2 separate regions of the Homo sapiens genome follow, and region 2 is linked to region 1. Evidence: promoter capture Hi-C in human tissues and cell types (Jung and others, 2019). All regions are on one chromosome and are shown on one strand. The core of a region is centred on a gene start or on the middle of the fragment in contact, and the rest is flanking DNA. Distances in the headings are between cores, read along the strand shown.

Region 1 (4,549 bases), core at 906-3,405:
CATGTAATATTTGTCTGAGACTGGCTTCTTTCACTGGGCATAATATTTTCCAAGTTTGTCCATACTGTAGCATGTATCAGTACTTCCCACCTTTCTTTTTTTCCTTTCTTTTTTTTTTTGGAGGGGGGATGGAATCTCCCTCTGTCACCCAGGCTGGAGTACAGTGGCGCAATCTTGGCTGCAACTTCCGCCTCTTGGGCTCAAGTGATTCTCCTTCCTGCCTTCCGAATTGCTGGGATTACAGGTTCTTGCCACTACGCCTGGCTAATTGTTATATTTTTAGTAGAGACAGAGTTTTGCCATGTTGGCCAAGCTGGTCTTGAATTCCCGACCTCAAGTAATCGCCCGCCTTGGCCTCCCAAAGTGCTGGGATTACAGGTGTGAGCCACCACAACTGGCCAGTAATTCGTACCTTTCTATGGCTGTATAATATTCTATGTTGTGTGGATATACCACATTTTGTTTTTCCATTCATCAGTGGATGAACATTTGCGTGGTTTCCACTTTTTGGCTATTATGAATAATGCTGCTACGTACATTTGTGTATGTTTTGTGTGGCCATATGTTTTCATTTCTCCCGGGTAGATATCTAGGAGTGGAATTGCTGTGACCCCTGGCCTTTGTACTCTGCCTCCTTGGCTAGGGATCTAGTATCTTCCTTGACAGGCCCAACTATCTCATCCTTCAGGTTTCTTAAAGGAAGCCTCGCTGACTCCCATGGCTGAGTTGGGTCTTCTGTGCCACCCTACCTCCAATCTTTGCACATTTCATATGGTGATATGATGGCCTGGGTCCTGATCTTGGCCCCCACAGGTGAGCAACTTGAGAGAGACTATCTGCTTTGGTTCACCACTGTCCATCCCAGTGCCTGGCTCTCCTGCTGCTGGAAAGACAAGAGACAGATTCTGAGGCCAGAGCAATCAGGAAAGTCTTCCTGGAGGAAGCGGGGCTGGAGTTGGGTTGATAGGTTGGTTTGCCCCAGAGCGGGGCAGAGGGCTTTGATTGGCTTCGGTGGAAGAAAGGTGAAGAGAGCTTGGAGAAAGGAAAGATGGATGGGTGACAGGCAGGCAGAGAACAAAGCTCAGAGCCCCGGGGGCTGTTTAGTCTCGGCCCCTGTAAGGCTGCAAAGTGCCAGTGACTCAGACGTGGAGGGAGGCTCACAGGCTGCAGCGCGCGAGGCTCCCACATTAACCCTCACCTGCCTGGAATCGAAAAGCCACAATGGAAGCACTCGGCATTAACCCTCAGCTGCCCAGTCCTTGAGCCCCAGGGCCAAGGGCTGTGGACATGGCCTTGAGATCCCCGGGAAAGCCCCGCCCCCCAGAATCTGGTTACGTGAGGCTCAGCCTTCTGATGCCCGGTGGTGAACTTGCCCAGAGAGCACCTAAATACCGCGGAGTGGCCAAAGGCTTGAGCGCCCAGCGACAGACAAGTGTCCTAAGAATTGGTGCCTCTTCTAGGGAAAAGGAGGCCTGGGCTCCAAGGCCTTAAAGACTCGCCTAATTTTCCGCACGGATGAGTAGACCCAGGCCCAGTTCGGATCCGTCTTTATCTTATCGTCTGTGTCAGAGAAATATGTCATATTTCCAATCTCTGGCGGCAAGAAAATGCCGAGCTCTTTTGCTATTGAAAAAAAAAAGGGAAGAAAACACTGCGGCCCTAATCCTGCCCAATACAACCCAGAACCCAGCCTTGGGTGTTGCCCCGAGGGCGCAGCGCCGCTCCCATCGGCGCTGGGGGTCCAAGCGGCCCTGGGGCCCCGCAGGCCCGGGCTGAGGCCACCCCTCTGTTCCCGCGTCGGTGGCCCTGAGCGCACGGCGCTCGGAACTCGGAGGTGCCAGAGGCTCGGGCAAAGCAGGCCTGGGGAGGGCGCGAAGCCGCGTTGTTCCGATCCTCAGCCACCTGAGTCCCAGCCTGGAACCTTCGGACCCTCGCGTTCGGCCCGAACGTTCGGGCCCCCTCGGTGCCAGGCGCCCCGAGTGCCGCGGCGCGCCGGGCGCGGGCTGGGAGCGGCGGACTGCGGGCGGGACAGCGCCCCCGCTCCTCCCGTGGGAGAGCGCGCGCCCCTCCAGGAAGCTCCCGCCTCGCCTCCCACTTCCCTCCCCACTCCCCTCCTCGGCCGGAGGGAGGAGCCCGAGCCGCCGCCGCCGCCGCCGCCCGCCCGCCCGGCCCGGGAGGAGGACCGGACCCCGAGCGGCTGGGAGCGCACGCGAGCGGGCCGTGGCCGCGCGGGCAGCGCCCTGAGCCTGTCCCGCGCCCGCGGGCCCGGCCGAGCAGGAGCAGCTCCCGGGGATGCCCGGGCGGCTCGGAGCGCGGGCAGCGGCAGCCGTGCGGTGAGGGCGGTGGCGCCCGCGGGACCTGCGGTGAGTGGGGCCCGGGCAGGCGGGGCAGCTTGGCGTGAGTGCCCAACTTCGGCCTTGGGGCTGGGCTCTTTGATCCAGCTGCGGGTCCGAAGGAACCCGGGTTCCGCCTCGGGGGGCTGCGGCGCTCTAGCCCCCGCCGCCAGCGCGAACCCGGACTCCGGCGCTTCGGTGACTCAGCTCCGACCCGGCCACGCGGGGGCGCCCCGCCGGCTCCCGGACTGCGGGGAAGGGCGGGCGGGGTCCCTGGGGAGGGGGGCGCCCTCGGGGGTCCGAGCCCAGCTGCTTTGGGGACCCTTCCACCCGCCCCGAGGGGCTTGGAGGGCGTACGGGAGGTGGAGACCCGCCGCTGCCGCAGCTGCTGAAGGCGTGAGGTCGCCCTGGCTCTCGGCGGGCGCTGGCTCCTCTCCGCTCCCCTCTGCCCTCCTCCCACCCCTCAACACCCACCCCCTGCCCCAGGCAACTGCCGGAGGGCCGGCTCCCAGCCCCGGTACTGGGAGCGCAGAGGGGGAGTGGAGCTGGGCAGCTTCCCAGAAGTCGGAGTGTGTTTGCAAACTAGTTTTTGCGAAAAAGCTGTCTGGCACCTGTGTGTTTAAAGGGGGTGTGGGGGTGGGCATGGAGAGAGCGGGCGAACAAGGCCCTCTCTTATTCCCCGTTTCTCACAGCGATGCTCCTCTGAAAATAGAGGGGTCTTACACCCTCTTCCCTGCTCTTCCCACCCCATCCCCCAGCCTCGCTCCACGTCCCCCCGAGTTCAAGAAGCTCTCCTATGGGGAAGGGGCTGCTTCAAAGGGGGCTGTGATTTGCCCAAGGTCACAGATGCTGCTGGCTCTGGTAGCTAATAGGGTGTTCATCTTGCATCTGAATCCCCTGCCCCATATGTACTGGGGGAAGGGACAAGGGGTCTGGAAGAATGATCTTCCAGACAAAACGCCCTTTTTTTTGTCTGCCTTAGTTTTTTGCTCCCTTAGAGGTGTGTGCTGTCATCAAAGGTTGGGGGGCTTTTTCTGCCCCTTGGGCATCCACAGCTTCACGGACTGCAGGGAGCCCATGGTTTTCAGGAAACAGGCGGTGTGCGCAGATTGTAATCCCTGGCAGCTGCAGCCTGCCCTGATGGGGAGGCCTGGGAGACCTGGGTCTGAACCCCACCTATGACCAACAGGGAACTTGGCCCAGACCCTCCCCCCCTGTGGCCCTCTGGGTCACCATCTGTGAAATGGGCTGATGTTCCGGGGCCTGCCTCCTGGAGAATGGACACAGCATGAAGGCGTGGTTTTATGGCATTCCGCCTGGCATAGGTCCAGGTGAGCTCCAGGACCGCCCCAGCCAGCTGGATTGGAAGGGGTCACCCAGGCAGGTTTCTCCATGGAAAGAACCAGGGACGAAGGATGTGGACGCTTGGGTTCGTTTTGCGGCCGTCACTTCCTGTCTGCGTGCCTTGTCACCCCTTGGACTTGGGGGGTTTTCTGTCTGTAAAATGAGGCAAACTGTGACATGATCCAGCTTACAGTAGGGCGGCTGGGAGGCTGGAACTGGGGAACAGGGAGCAGACGTTCTGCAAGTAGGGAGCACTTCATGAGTGGCAAGTGTGGTGTCTCTGGTGGTGTTCCAACGGACACTCCCTCTGGAATGTCATGAGAATTAAAAACTGGGGCATAAGGGAAGAAGATGGCTGAGAATGGAGCCTCGGTTTCTATGTCTGTAAAACAGTAAGTACTGGACCCCATCTGGTCCTCCTCCCAGTCCTCAGTTTTTATATCTATACACCTTCATATTCTTTTCAGGTAATTGTGTATTTCTGCAAAGGTAGGATTAAATTAGATTGCAAGGACTCGGGTGCCAGCACTTATTGGTACGTGGTGAGTGCCTGGTTAACTGTCATTGTCATTATCCATGGGAATATTAAGAAGCCTGATGTGGGTGACTGCATCCAGGATCCTTTGTGGGGTTGTCTCAGGCCAGCTTGCTCCTCCCCCTCCCGTCAGGACTTCTGGGCTGTTCTAGGGGCAGGGGCCTGGGGTGAAAGAAGACCAGGAGAAGTGGTAGGTCTCATCCAGGTGTCCCCATTTCCCCACATCTGGCTGGCCTCACAGGGCTCTAAGGAGTGAACAGAAAACAAAAGAGCACTCTCTAGTAATTTTCTCCCTCCTGTCAGAGCAGGAGGCATCATCGCCAGGCACGGTCCCGAT
Region 2 (4,437 bases), core at 1,739-4,238, 270 kb after region 1:
GCCTCCCAAGTAGCTGGGATTACAGGTGCATGCCACCATGTATGGCTAATTTTTGTATTTCTGGTAGAGATGAGGTTTCACCACATCGGCCAGGCTGGTCTTGAACTCCTGACCTCAAGTGATCTGCCTGCCTCAGCCTCCCAAAGTGCTGGGATTACAAGCATGAGCCACCGTGCCTGGCCTCCTTTCTATCTTTGAATTTCAGCTGAAATGTCACCCCGTTCTAGAGGCCTTTCCCGACTGCCTATCCCAAAGCTGCTTCTTTGTTTCATTCGCTTCCCGGTGTTCCTCCCAGCCTGACATTACCTTGTTTGCCATGTTTGTCTGTTGTGGAAGACAAACTCCATGAGAGCAGGGGCCCCTGCTCTCCTGTTCAGGCTGCCTTCCCAGGCTCTGGCAGTGCACTTGGCACATAGTAGGTGCTTGTATGAGCTTCCTCTGGCTGCTGTAACAAATGACCATGAACTTGGTGGCTTAAAACATCACAAATTTATTATCCAATAGCCTGGGAGGTCAGAAGTCCTAAATCAGTCTCAGTGGACTAAAATCAAGGTGTGGGGAGGGATAAGTTCTTTCTGGAGGCTCTGGGGGAGAATCTGTTTCCTTGCCTCTTCCAGCTTCTCCAGCCCGCCTGCATCCCTGGGTTCACAGTTCCACGTCACTGGGACCTCTGCTCTGTCATCCATCATCTCTTCTGACTCTGACCCACAGCCTCCCTCTTGAAATAACTCTGTGATTGCCTTGGGCCTGTCTAGATAATCCAATAAATCTCCCTCTTTAAAGATCCTAGGTCAGGTATGGTGGCTCACACCCATAATCCTAGCACTTCAAGAGGCCAAGATAGGAGGATTGCTTGAGGCCAGGAGTTCAAGACCAGCCCTGGCAACATAGTGAGATCCCCATCTCTACAAGAAATAAAAATGAGCAGGGCGTGGTGGCACACACCTGTAGTCCCAGCTACTTGAGAGGCTGAGGCAGTAGGATCGCTTGAGCCCAGGAGGTCAAGGCTGCAGTGAGCTGTGATTGCACCACTGCACTCCGGCCTGTGTGACAGAGTGAGATCCTGCCTCTAAAACAACGACAACAACAACAAAAATCCTAAACCCTAAACAGTCACATCTGCAAAGTCCTTTTTACCATGTAAGGTAACATATTCATAGGTTTTGGGGATTAGAATGTGGACATTTAGGGGGGCCATTATTCTGTTTACCACAGCGTTCAATAAATGTTTGCTGAATGAAGGAATTGGATGAATGGATGGGTCCCTTTATACATGGAGTCCCAAGTTCTGAGTTCCAGGCCTGGCGTAGCCTCTGTGTGGCTGTGTGAACTGGGCAAGTCCTCTCTCTCTGAACCTCAGTTTCCTCCTTCATTAGATGTGTTCTTTTTTTTCTTTCTTTCTTTCTTTTTTTTTTTTTTTTTTTTTTTGAGATGGACTCTCATTCTCTCACCCAGGCTAGAGTGCAGTGGCGCAATCTTGGCTCACTGCAACCTCTGCCTCTCACCGGATTCAAGCGATTCTCCTGCCTCTCAGCCCCCCAAGTAGCTGGGATTACAGGCGCATGCCATCACACCCGGCCAATTTTTGTATTTTTGGTAGAGATGGGGTTTCTCCATGTTGGCCAGGCTGGTCTTGAACTCCTGACCTCAGGTGATCCACCTGCCTGGGCCTTCCAAAGTGCTGGGATTACAGTCATGAATCACTGCACCCAGCCCATGTGTTCTGAGCACCCAACATGTGCCTGATCCTCAGAGGGCCCTGGGAATGCCAAGAAAAATGAAGGGAGACCCCAGCCTCCTAGAGCTTGGAGTCTGACTTCTAGGGAGGGGCTTGAGAAAGAGAAAACCTGACCCAGTCTGCTCAGGGCCACATTCCAGGTCCCCTAGAAGGCTTTGAAGTCCTGAGAGGGTGTGCTTACCAAGGACATGACATTTCAAACAGCTTTGACGCATAAGTAGGAGTTTATGTGGTAGAGATGTGGAAAGTGACATTAAAGGCCAGGGACAGGCCGCAGTCCCTTTTGAGGAAGTGTGAGGAGTGTGGTGTGATCCCTCAGGGGAAGGAGACCAGTGGGGAAAGGCCTGTCCGGAAACGGGGCCTTGAAGGCCACAGACAGGAGCCCGGGACCTGCCTTTAGGTGAATGGGGAGCCACGGCAGGGTTCTGAAGCAGGAGAGAGAGTGTGTAGCTCTGGACCACTCACGCTGGCTGCTGCAGGGTGGGGATGGCATTGAGGAGGCCAGCATCCCAGCCTGAGGTGGAGGTGGCCTGGACTGGGCAGGAACAGTGGGGTTGGAGAGAAGGAGCAGATCTGAGAGAGATTTAGGAAGCAGAATCAACGGGACATGGACATGGTGAGGGACTGAGACAGGAGTGGGGGAGGGAGAGCCCGGCAGCCACTGGGAAGGAAGATCAGGCAGGACAGAAGTGTGGGTAGATGCTTTCCATAAACCGTTGAGAAATCCACGACCTGGCCCAAATGTGGACTTCACGAGAAGCCCCAGATGGGTCAATGGGTCCATAGGCCTCTCCCATTGAAGAGAGACCAGTAATGCCGTCATTAAGGGTACAAGACAGGCCTCAATTCTAGGTGAGGGTTGGTCCACGTTCTCACTTGATTTACAACCAGTGAAGTCAACAGAGCTGTGAAACCATCTCCCCCATTTCCAGATGGGGAAACCAAGTCCCAGAGACACCCAGACATGGCCAAGGCCACACAGTGCAGAGACCCTGGGGAGCACAAGCCTCTAAGAGGGGGATTTTACAAGTCTGTCTGAAACCAGAGGCGAGGACAGAGTTGAGGGGGGGTCCCCTCTGAGTGGTTCCCCGCCAAAGAGAATTTCTCCACTTTGGAGGAAGTGGGAGGTAGTTCTTCTTTTGAGATGTGAATGTCAAGTGACTCTGGGCACCCCGGTGACTAAGAGGTAAGTAAGTGAGGCTTGTGGGTGGAGCCAGCACCTTAAATAGCAGGTCTTCCTATGTCCCTTTGCAGACACCTGGGCTGAGACATACAGGACAGAGCATGGATCGCCTACAGACTGCACTCCTGGTTGTCCTCGTCCTCCTTGCTGTGGCGCTTCAAGCAACTGAGGCAGGTGAGGCTGGGGAGCAGGAAGACCCCCTACAGAGGCCAGGGCAGACGGTGGGGTGTCTTCCTCATGTCTTGGACAAGCACTGGACCAAGAGCAGAAGACCTCAGTCTGCTGTTGGCTCTTGCGGCCTTCGGCTAGTTGCAGTGCTTCTCTGGGCCTCAGTTTACAAGTCTGTTGAATGGGCAGTCTTGAAGACTTGGAGTCTAGGATCTGTCTCACCTGGGTTGGGGGTTGTGGTGGGCATAGCCTCGGGATCTCCTGCCCCAGAAAACTCAAGCATAGGGCCCTAGGGGTGTGGGTGAGGAGCTTCTAAGGGTCAGGTCTGAGTGGGGGAAGGCAGGGCTGGGGCAAGGGGTTCTCCCTTGGAAAGCTGGTGCTGCCCTCCCACCATCCATTTTTTAAAATGTTATTATTATTATTTTTTATTTTATTTTATTTTATTTTTTGAGACACAGTTTCACTCTTGTTGCCCAGGATGGAGTGCAGTGGGGCAATCTTGGCCCACTGCAACCTCTACCTCCCAGGTTCAAGCGATTCTCCTGCCTCAGCCTCCTGAGTAGCTGGGATTACAGGCATGCACCACCACACCTGGCTAATTTTTGTATTTTTAGTGGAGACAGGGTTTCACCATGTTGGCCAGGCTGGTCTCAAACTCCTGACCTCAGATGATCCTCCCACCTCAGCCTCCCAAAGTGCTGGGATTACAGGCATGAGCCACTGCGTCTAGCCTAAATTTATTTTTTATTTCATTTTATTTATTTATTTTTTGAGATGGAGTCTCTGTTGCCCAGGCTGGAGTGCAGTGGCGCAATCTCAGCTCACTGCAACCTCCACCTCTGGAGTTAAAGTGATTCTCCTGCCTCAGCCTCCTGAGTAGCTGGGATTACAGGCACCTGCCACCATGCCCGGCTAATTTTTGTATTTTTAGTAAAGATGGGGTTTCACCATGCTGACCGGTCTTGTCTCGAACTCCTGACCTCAAGTGAAACTCCCATCTTGGCCTCCCTAAGTGTTAGGATTACAGGCGTGAGCCACTGCTCTGGGCTCACTATCCATTTTTGTCCAGAACCTGTCCTCAGCATGGATTCCTGACTCCTCTTCTCCACCCCACTCTATACTTTTGCTGTGTTGGGTGGAGGAGTGAGCACTGGAGTGGGGTCAGGCAGCTATAAACAAGAATTGCTCCCAGCTGCTGGGCTTTCTGAGTGCTTTTCATGCATTAAAGACCCTCTGAAGCTGGTACTGTTATTACCCCTTTGGTCAGAGGAGGAAATTGGGCCTCAGGCTACAGCTGATGCTTAGTTGTTCTGAATCCCCGCTCCTAGAGCTGACTGTCCCAGAGTGT

Evidence for each region. Contacts are between HindIII fragments. The study calls those that stand out against the background at their distance.
Region 2: the fragment with the promoter of CCL22 here is called in contact with the fragment with the promoter of CPNE2 in region 1 in 1 of the 25 tissues and cell types used here (heart left ventricle).

What each region holds. Positions count from the first base shown.
Region 1 is chr16:57,090,428-57,094,976 of GRCh38, forward strand. CPNE2 (copine 2) reads left to right here and starts at 2,156. Exons shown (of 16, transcript NM_152727.6): 1 at 2,156-2,363. RefSeq lists silencers at 1,678-1,747, 1,768-2,017, 2,128-2,177, 2,238-2,647. The HindIII fragment of the contact is 24,624 bases long and covers 1-4,549 here.
Region 2 is chr16:57,355,795-57,360,231 of GRCh38, forward strand. CCL22 (C-C motif chemokine ligand 22) reads left to right here and starts at 2,989. Exons shown (of 3, transcript NM_002990.5): 1 at 2,989-3,095. The coding sequence starts at 3,023. The HindIII fragment of the contact is 38,120 bases long and covers 1-4,437 here.